Regions from separate parts of the Homo sapiens genome. Here regions 1 and 2 are each linked to region 3. The links are contacts of gene promoters, found by promoter capture Hi-C in human tissues and cell types (Jung and others, 2019). All regions are on one chromosome and are shown on one strand. Each heading gives the region's core, a stretch centred on a gene start or on the middle of the fragment in contact. The rest is flanking DNA. Distances are from core to core; before and after follow the strand shown. Region 1 has its middle 73 kb from the start of RPA1. Region 2 overlaps INPP5K (inositol polyphosphate-5-phosphatase K). Region 3 holds the start of TLCD2 (TLC domain containing 2).

Evidence for each region. Contacts are between HindIII fragments. The study calls those that stand out against the background at their distance.
Region 1: a fragment that was not itself captured here is called in contact with the fragment with the promoter of TLCD2 in region 3 in 1 of the 25 tissues and cell types used here (lymphoblastoid cells).
Region 2: a contact is called between a fragment that was not itself captured here and the fragment with the promoter of TLCD2 in region 3, in 1 of the 25 tissues and cell types used here (dorsolateral prefrontal cortex).

The regions. Positions count from the first base shown.
Region 1 is chr17:1,901,776-1,904,794 of GRCh38, reverse strand. No RefSeq gene overlaps it. Among named protein-coding and RNA genes, the nearest start is that of RPA1, 73 kb to the right of the region's middle. RefSeq lists enhancers at 447-496, 577-626. The HindIII fragment of the contact is 8,308 bases long and covers 1-3,019 here.
Region 2 is chr17:1,503,638-1,506,563 of GRCh38, reverse strand. The region is part of intron 7 of INPP5K (inositol polyphosphate-5-phosphatase K); the gene reads left to right. Among named protein-coding and RNA genes, the nearest start is that of INPP5K, 12 kb to the left of the region's middle. The HindIII fragment of the contact is 5,924 bases long and covers 1-2,926 here.
Region 3 is chr17:1,708,349-1,711,626 of GRCh38, reverse strand. TLCD2 (TLC domain containing 2) reads left to right here and starts at 1,250. Exons shown (of 4, transcript NM_001164407.2): 1 at 1,250-1,560; 2 at 1,741-1,823; 3 at 2,046-2,128. The coding sequence starts at 1,385. MIR22HG (MIR22 host gene) reads left to right here. Exons shown (of 3, transcript NR_028505.2): 3 at 1-123. The HindIII fragment of the contact is 13,317 bases long and covers 1-3,278 here.

The sequences.
Region 1 (3,019 bases), core at 281-2,780, 190 kb before region 3:
ATTACAAGCCTAAGTGCTGAGGAGATCAGCTTTCCCAGGCAAACATATAAGCCTCTAAAATTTTAGGCCAATGGAAATGACCTCTGTACCATGGCTGACTGAAGATATAAATAAACTTCAACATGAACAGCAGTGTCAACGGTGAGAGGAGATGAGAGTCCAACTGGGGCTTATTTTTAAAAAGTCCTGCCTGTTCTAACTCCATTTCAGGGCTGGGCATTGAAGAGCACAAAGCTGCAGTTCCCCGCGGCAAGCCCTCCTCTTTAACAGGCACCAGCCCCCTAGGTTACCTGGCCGTTGAAAGGAAGCTGCAACACACATAAGTTAAATATAGGTTTGGTTATTTGCATTTTACAAGCACCGAGAATGTTATCTGAGGAAGCTGTCATTTTTAATGACAGCACAAACTTCCAATTACCAACTGGGTAATGCACTAGGGAACGGGCATAATTTTATAAGAACGGCTCGCAATTATTAAAAGTTTACACGATCACTTCTGAGTTGGCTATATAAATATTTCTCACGAGGCAGGTGGGATTCAGTTTTTCACAGGGTCTATTCAAGGCTGAAAAAAAGATTTGTTTTATTGAAAAGTATACATTTTGAGACTCATCAACAGCTAAGGAGAGGGTGTAAAGCGACAGCTACTAAGAGCCTGAGAAGCTGCAAATGCAGCCAGGTGGCTGGTTCAAAGCCTCTCACAAACACCCACGAGCTCACTGGCAAGTCAGACACTGTCACGACAAACCCAATGCAGGTTAGGGGTATGGCAATGGATAACACAAGAACCTCTTACTGGCCGGGCACAGTGTCTCACGCCCGTAATCCCAGCACTTTGGGAGGCCGAGGAGGCCGGATCACCTGAGGTCGGGAGTTCGAGATTAGCCTGGCCAACATGGTGAAACCCTGTCTCTACTAGAAATACAGAAATTATCCAGATGTGGTGACACACGCCTGTATAATCCCAGCTACTCGGGAGGCTGAGGCAGAAGAATCGCTTGAACCTGGGAGGTGGAGGTTGCAGTGAGCCGAGATCGTGCCATTGCACTCCAGCCTGGGCAACAGAGAGAGACTCCATCTCAAAAAAATAAAAAATTAAAAAAAAAAAAAAGAAACTTTCACTCAGCCCATAGTCAAACACTGTCCTATTTGCACCAGGAACCCATTTCCGTTCAGTACCTCTACCCAGCCTCCGTGGCACCGCGTGGCTTCGTGTCAGTGACGAACACAGCGCATGCCACTGTTACCAGTGTTGCTCTCGGTCTGCCTCATACAGACCGGACAGCCCCGACCTAAATGAAGGCTCTAATCAGTGAGTCTCAAATCACCCAATTCTTTGTGAAGTCTTTCCTGATTGACTCCAGTCTTCCAGCAATTTCCCCCTCAACTGCATTTTAATATCACTGTGATATGACTACTTAGCCCCCAAGCCTTGCTCTAAATAGTCCATAGCTCTCAGGGACAGATATCTTTAAGTCACACACTGGCTGGGCGCGGTGGCTCACGCCTGTAATCCCAGCACCTTGGGAGACCAAGGTGGGCGGATCACCTGAGGTCGAGAGTTTGAGACCAGCCTGACCAACATGGTCTCTACTAAAAATAGAAAATTAGCTGGGCGCGGTGGCATATACCTGTAAATCCCAGCTACTCGGGAGCCTGAGGCAGGAGAATTGCTTGAACCTGGGAGGCAGAGTTTGCAGTGAGCCAAGATCACGCCATTGCACTCCAGCCTGGGCAACAAGAGCGAAACTCCATCTCAAAAAAAAAAAAAAAAAAAAAAAAAGTCACATACTAAGGCTGGGCGTGGTGGCTCACGCCTGTAATCCCAGCACTTTGGGAGGCAGAGGCGGGCAGATCACGAGATCAGGAGATTGAGACCATCCTGGCTAACACGGTGAAACCCCGTCTCTACTAAAAATACAAAAAATAAGCTGGGCATGGTGGCGGGCGCCTGTAGTCCCAGCTATTTGGGAGGCTGAGGCAGGAGGATTGCTTGAACTTGGGAGGCAGAGGTTGCAGTGAGCCGAGATTGTGCCACTGCACTCTAGCCTGGGTAAGAGTGAAACTCCGTCTAAAAAACAAACAAACAAACAAACAAAAAGACCCCAAAAAATCAGCTGGGCGTGCAGTAGTCCCAGCTACTCAAGAGGCTGAGGCAGGAGAATCACTTAAACCCAGGAGGTGGTGGTTGCAGTGAGCCGAGATCGCACCACTGCACTCCAGCCTGGGCGACAGAGACTCCATCTCAAAAAATAAAGTCACATACTGACAGGCTGGAACCATGAAGACGAGTGGCTACATACTTTTCTCAATGACTTTTCAAAACCATCATTACAAATATAATTACAAGACTTAATAATCATTAATAGCTTTAGATAATCAGGTTGATTTATAGGCAAGTCAAATGTATTCTCAAGAGGCCTTCTTTGCCAGGGTGGTGGGAAACAAGAGTTTCGCCTCTTCATAGGCACAGCCCCCGTCTGTGTAGTAGGCAGGATGAAACCAGGGCTCCAAAGCCTTCTTTTTCCCTCCCCTCCCTACATTAATCTACCTGCTTCCAAGGAAGGACCTGCTCAAATTACCTACCAGCCCTTGGTGGTACACAGGGTTAGAGGAGTTATCCCTGGACTTAGGCAAAGAAAAATCAATGAGAGAACCTAACAGAACAAGAAAAGGCATGGATTGTCAGTGCCACAAAGCATAAACGCTTCTGCTCGTGAAATCTTGAATTTATAACAATTAGAAAAAGTATAAGCATCCTGCAAGAGTGAATTGGCTGAAAACACATCCAAAGAGCCAAACACCACTTAAAATTATTTATCTAAAGCTATTAATGATTAGTAAATCTTTTAATTATGTTTGTGATTTTTTTGTTTTGAGATGGAGTCTCCCTCAGTCGCTCAGGCTGGAGTGCCATGGTGTGATCTTGGCTCACTGCAGCCTCTGCCTCACGGGGAGGGACTCTCTTGCTTCAGCCTCCCGGGCAGCTGGGATTACAGGGGTGAGCCACCACACCCGG
Region 2 (2,926 bases), core at 305-2,804, 210 kb after region 3:
CTTGTGTGAGAAGGTGAAGTAGTAGGTAGAGAGTTTCATCAGGATCAGTGTAGAGATCATGAGTCTGGTAGTTAGAAGCACGGCTCTGTCTTATTTTAGCCAAAGCGTTTAGGCCTTGATTTTGTCAGCTATAAGGTGTGGATGAGAAGAGCACACACCTCATGAGGCTGAGGACTGAAGGAGGCCGTCACCCAGTAACCATGGGAGAGAACGGCTATTGTGACTTTTCGATTCATGCCGGCTGGGCGCGGTGGCTCACACCTGTAATCCCAGCACTTTGGGAGGGCCGAGGCAGGTGGATCACTGAAGGTCAGGAGTTTGAGACCAGCCTGACCAACATGGTAAAACCCCATCTCTACTAAAAATTCAAAAATTAGCTGGGCATGGTAGCGCGCACCTGTAATCCCAGCTACTCAGGAAGCTGAGGCAGGAGAATTGCTTGAACCCAAGAGGCAGAGGTTGCCGTGAGCCGAGATCTCACCGCTGCACTCCAGCCTGGGTGACAGAGCGAGACTCCGTCTCAAAAAAATAATAATAAAATAAATAGATTCATGTCTTCCCGTGATAGATTTACTAAAAACCTTTCTAAGAAGCTGAGAAGGGGCCAAATAACCACCAAAACCTGAGAAAGAACCACTGGCAACATGTCCCTGACTCATTTTGGGGCAAGGAACCTAATCTCTTTGAAGAAAAGAAGAGCCCCTTACATGTCATGAGGGTCTTTGTTCCAGCGGGAGCAGCTTGTTCATTCCTCCTAGCTGGAGTGTCTCTGTGAGGGAGGCGGGAGGTACCGGCAGGGCAGCCCAGGGCTTTGGGATTTAGCCAGGGAAGAAATATCTCCACAGCCAGACCAAGACAAGAGGTAGAACTCAAGCTTGGTTCTGGAAGTGTTACAGCAAAGCCAAAATATCCTTGTCAAGGAAAGGGGGAAAGAGTGAGCCGATTCAGCAGTGTGGAGCAAGACAGGGTAGGGTCGTGAGCAGGGCCGTCCACAGAAGAGGAGGCAGTGGACGCTGGGGAAGGGACCCGCCCTGGGCAACAGAGCAGGCAGGAAAGGAGGTAAGAGGCCAGGCTGCAGCAGGATGGCCGGCCCAGATCAACAGCTGCAGGGAGACTGCCAGTCTCTGCAGCCATCCATTGGAAACAAGAGTCCTGGTGGGAGCTGTAAGGACAGGGTAGGGCCTTGGGTGGGGAGGGGGTGCTTGAAGCCAGGAGTTCAAGACCTGCCTGGGCAACATAGTTAGACCCCGTCTCTACGAAAATTTAAAAATTAGCTGGGTGTAGTGGCATGTGCCTGTAGTCCCAGCTACTCAGGAAAGCTGAGGCAGGAGGATCACTTGAGCCCAGGAGTTAAAGGCTGCAGTGAGCTGAGATTGACTCACTGCACTCCAGCTGGGCAACCCTGTCTCCAAAAAAAAAAATCCTCTTTAAAAACTTACCAGCAGGAAGAGAGCTGCTGGCAGGCCCTACGGCCAGGCGTCCCCTTCTCCCAGCCCTATGGCAGAGAGACCTCCAGGAGACTGAAGTTTGTTGCAAAAGCTGGATCTGGGCTGGAGTTGGCAGGGTCAGAAAGGGTAGAGAGCTTTGGAGAAGTTCAAGGGCTTCCCCAGGTAGCTCAGCCAGTGAGTGGCAGAGCTGGGGCTGAGACTGATCTCTGAGTCTGTAGCCCACAGTACTTTCCTCAAGCCCATCGTACCTCAGGATTCATGGTCATCCTTGCCAGCAAGAGGAAAAAGGATGGCACGGTGAGGAAGGCAGACTCCCGCTAAGGAGGAGGCACGCACCTATTTCCAAATAACAGCTCATTGTGATTGGCGTGCAGGTGTGCGCCAAGGCTTTGCCTGTATCAGTTCCTACCATGTCCTCGTTAGGTAAACAGTGTTATTATTGCCTGTTTACAAGGAAAGCAACTGAGTCTCAAAGAATATATAAGTAAGGAGTAACAGGCTTCTTCATCGCACGAGGATTGGAACTCATATCTGTGTCTGTAGACTCATGAGCCTTCGGTACTGCTTCCCTTTGGCTGGAGCCCAGGAAATGCAAGACTGTCTGGGCGGGAACAGGGGACATGGTAACTGAAATACTCCTGGCTGGGGCCAGGATCCAGGGGCAGCTGGGAGTTTTGCAGTGAGCAGGGCCTGAGCCCACCTGGGGAACAGATATTCCTGTCTAATGACACTGTTATTTTATCCTTGGAAACCCAGTTGAGACATCACTTCTCCTAGGACGCCTTCCCGGCCCCTCCTCATCTCACTGAGAGTTCCTCTCCTGCCTTGTGCCACCCCCAGCCTTGCGCATGCCATGCTTTCAGTGTTGCTTTTGAGACACAGCGTACCTTTCTTACTGTACTGTGATTGCCCAGAGAGCAGAGACGATCTGATTTAGGACCATCCCTGGGAGTAGCACAGTACCTGGCATATGTTACCAAGCCTGGGAGTTAGTCAATAGAAGGTTTCCAGAACTCCGTGCAGAAGGTTGGAGCAAATGTTAAGGAGGTGAACAGCTAAAGCTAGGAGAGGCCTGTCAGACTTCCTGTCAAGGACAGTATCTTGAAGGAGGCACAGAGTTTCGCAGAAAGCAGAAAGGCGGGCTTTCCAATCAGTCAGCACACTGACGAGAGGAACCTGGAGGGGGCCGGTTTGATGAAGTGACTGTGAGCGTTAGTGTGCTGGGCCAGCCACTACGGTGTCCCTGAGCCAAGATGTAATGAGAAACGAGGCCAGCTCCCTTATAGGGAGGGCAAAAGGGCTGAGGGCAGGGCGGGAATCCTGCTAAAGTCCGGGGTTACACTGGAGTTTTGTTATAGTTGCCACTGTGAGCCCAGACAAAGTGTTTTATTTTTTTCGAGACAGAGTTTTCTTCTTGTCACCCAGGCTGGAGTGCAATGGCATGATCTTGGCTCACTGCAACGTCCGCCTCCTGGGCT
Region 3 (3,278 bases), core at 1-2,500:
AAAAATGTTGAGTGGTTATCTTTGTATGGTGGAACAAAGTCACTGTAATTTTCATCTTTGGTTTTTCTGTAATTTCCAAATTTTCCACATTTTGTATTTCATATAATATAATTTAAGAGATCAGTGTTATTATTTAAACCTTTGGAGAGGTGGGGGTAGAAGAATGAAGGGAAGACCTCAGCTTTTTGGTGAGAAGGTTTGGTTGGGGCACCTCTTGGTTTATGAACTTAATTCTTTGAAGTAGCTGGAATCCTCCCTCTCAGCCTGCAGGAAACAGCTCTGACTTGCTGACTGTCTGCCAGCTGAAGAGGTGGAGTGGAGTAAGGTGGAAGGAAAGCAGTGCAACCTGGGGCTCTTCAGGTGGTGAGGGGCTGGGGGAGGCTCTTCCTCTTAAGGCTGGAGGGTTCTGGAATCCTAACCGCCCTGCTACTAAGAGCAGGACAGGTCTGTTTTTCTCTTCTGACTCTGTCCCAGCCTTGAAGGGACCCTGTGTTACCTTTCCTTGCCCTCGGATTGAAGATATTCTACCCACCCAACGGGTACCAAGCCCTTGGGGAAGGAAGTGCTTTTCAAGACTGGGGGCCAGCGATTCCCTTTTGCGTCCTCTTCCTAATGAGGCTCCTCCGTAGGGCCGAAAACAATGCTGGGGGTCGGGGCGGGGCCCAGTGGGTCGCTTCTCCAACATGGGGTCTCCTGGGGGTTGTGGGGGAGGGGGAGCAGAACTGCTGGAATTACAGGTTTGCCGGGATATGGTAAAGGCGTGGAAACCTCAGGAGGCCGAAGGGGTGGCTCCAAGAAAGTGGGGCACCCCGTCCCCACCACGGACGCGGGGAGGGAAGTGGGGGCGGCGGCCAGGCTCGGGCAGGTACGAGTGGGCTGCGCTAGCCTCTGCCTTGCAGGGTGTGGCGGTGGGTGGTGATGACGCTCAGCAGGTGAAAGTCGCGGGAGCCGGGAAGAGGTCAAGGTTCGTGGGTGGGGCCCGGGAGTGTCAGTTGAGGTTAGACTGGAGACCCAGGTCTGCAACTCCAGCGCTTCAGGACGCTTGGAGCTGGGGAGGACCCCTATTGGCGAACATCCCGGAGGCCCCCCGAGCTCCAGGGCATGGTCTACTGCCCGGAGCCCCCGAACCGCTCCCCCGGCTGGAGCAAGACGCAATCGGTGGCCAAGGCTCCGGGGGCGGCGGCCCCGCGGCTGCTCCAATCACCGCCCAGGCGAGGGACTGGGCGTGGACGAACGGGGAAAAGTTCCTGCTGATCCCAAAGGCGCGGCGGGGAGGGGAGCCGGGGCCCCAGCCCTGCCGGGAAACGGGTTCCCAGTCCCGGCCGAGAGCGCGGGCGCCGAGGGGACCGACCCGGACTCCCCGCAACCCCCCAACCGCCAGGCCATGGCGCCCACGGGGCTCCTGGTGGCCGGCGCCTCCTTCCTCGCGTTCCGGGGGCTGCACTGGGGGTTGCGGCGGCTGCCCACGCCGGAATCGGCCGCTCGGGACCGCTGGCAGTGGTGGAACCTCTGCGTCTCCCTGGCGCACAGCCTGCTCTCGGGGACCGGGGCGCTGCTCGGGTGCGGGCTTGGGGGCTCGAGGCGCACGGGGCGAGGGCGAGGGGTGGGAGGCTGAGGCCGGGAGACCCGCCGGGCGTCTCCAGAGCTGAGACTGGGGTGGGGGTGCGCACAGGGAGACTGCGGCCGGGGCCTCGAGAGGCTGACCATGCCCCCCCCCATGTCCCCACCCCATGCCCCCAGCCTGTCACTGTACCCTCAGATGGCCGCCGACCCCATCCATGGCCACCCGCGCTGGGCTCTGGTGCTGGTGGCTGTGTCTGTGGGTGAGTCTGCAGGGAAGGCTGGGCCGGTGGTGGGGATGGGGCGGGGGGCAGGTTCTGCTGTCCTTCCAGGTCCATTCCCCGCCCCCATGGGGGTTAAACGTTCCTGAAGGCTTTACCAAGGGAAAACTAAGAACTGGGAGAGGGGCGGGGCGGGGGGGCTGGAAATCCTCTCTAAGCTGCCCGGGCTCTGGAGCAGCCTAACCCCTACCCCCATGCCCACAGGTTACTTCCTGGCAGACGGAGCTGACCTGCTGTGGAACCAGACCTTGGGCAAGACCTGGGATCTTCTCTGTCATCATTTGGTGGTGAGACTCTGAGGGCAGAAGCCAGACAGGAAGGGAGGAGGGGAGCCCTGTCCAGCCCGAGGTTCCCAGTCTCTCCTCATTCTTTTTTTTTTTTTTTTTTTTTTTTTTTGAGACGGAGTCTCACTCTGTCACCCAGGCTGGGGTCCAGTGGTTCGGCCTCTGTTCACTGCAACCTTCGCCTCCTGGGTTCAAGCAATTCTCCTGCCTCAGCCTCCCACGTAGCTGGGATTACAGGCACCCGCCACCACGCCCAAGTAATTTTTTGTATTTTTAGTAAAGACGGGGTTTCTCCATGTTGGCCAGGCTGGTCTCGAACTTCTGACCTCAGGTGATCCGCCCACTTCAGCCTTCCAAAGTGCTGGGATTACAAGCATGAGCCACCGCCCCCGGCCCTCTCTTCATTTTGCTGTCCTATAATTTCCCACAGTCTCTGCCCCCAGCTGGTGCTTGGCTCCCAGTCTTAGGCTGAGTTAGGGGGAGGAGGTGGCTGCTGGCCACAGCTGGGGAGTCCAGATACCCACCAGGCCAGGGCACCTACCATGCCAGGGCACTCACCATACAAGGGCACCCACCATGCCAGGGCACCCACCATGTGAGCCTAAGGAGTTTGGGTGCCCCCACAGGTGTCCAGCTGATCACAGAAATGTGGAATATGGAGCTTTTCTGAGAAGGGGGTGTCCTGGTATAGGGTGTGGGTATGGGGCATGAAAGCCCTAGGCCAGGCACGGTGGCTTATGCCTATAATCCCAGCACACTGGGAGGCCGAGGCGGGTGGATCACGAGGTCAGGAGATCGAGACCATCCTGACTAACAGTGAAACCCCGTCTCTACTAAAAATACAAAAATTACCTGGGTGTGGTGGCGCGCACCGGTAGTCCCAGCTACTCTGGAAGCTGAGGCAGGAGAATTGCTTGAACCCAGGAGGCAGAGGTTGCAGTGAGCCAAGATCACACCACTGCACTCCAGCCTGGTGGCAGAGTGAGAGTCTGTCTCGAAAAAAAAAAAAAAAAAAAAAAAAAGCAAGCAAGCCCAGGAATGGGAGGTTAAGGGGGTATTAGGGGGTGAGACAGCCCCTCCCTGGGCCAAGCCTGGTTCCATCTATGGAAGGGTTGTTTCAAGGCTGCTCAGGGCCCCAGGATAAAGGTAAAAG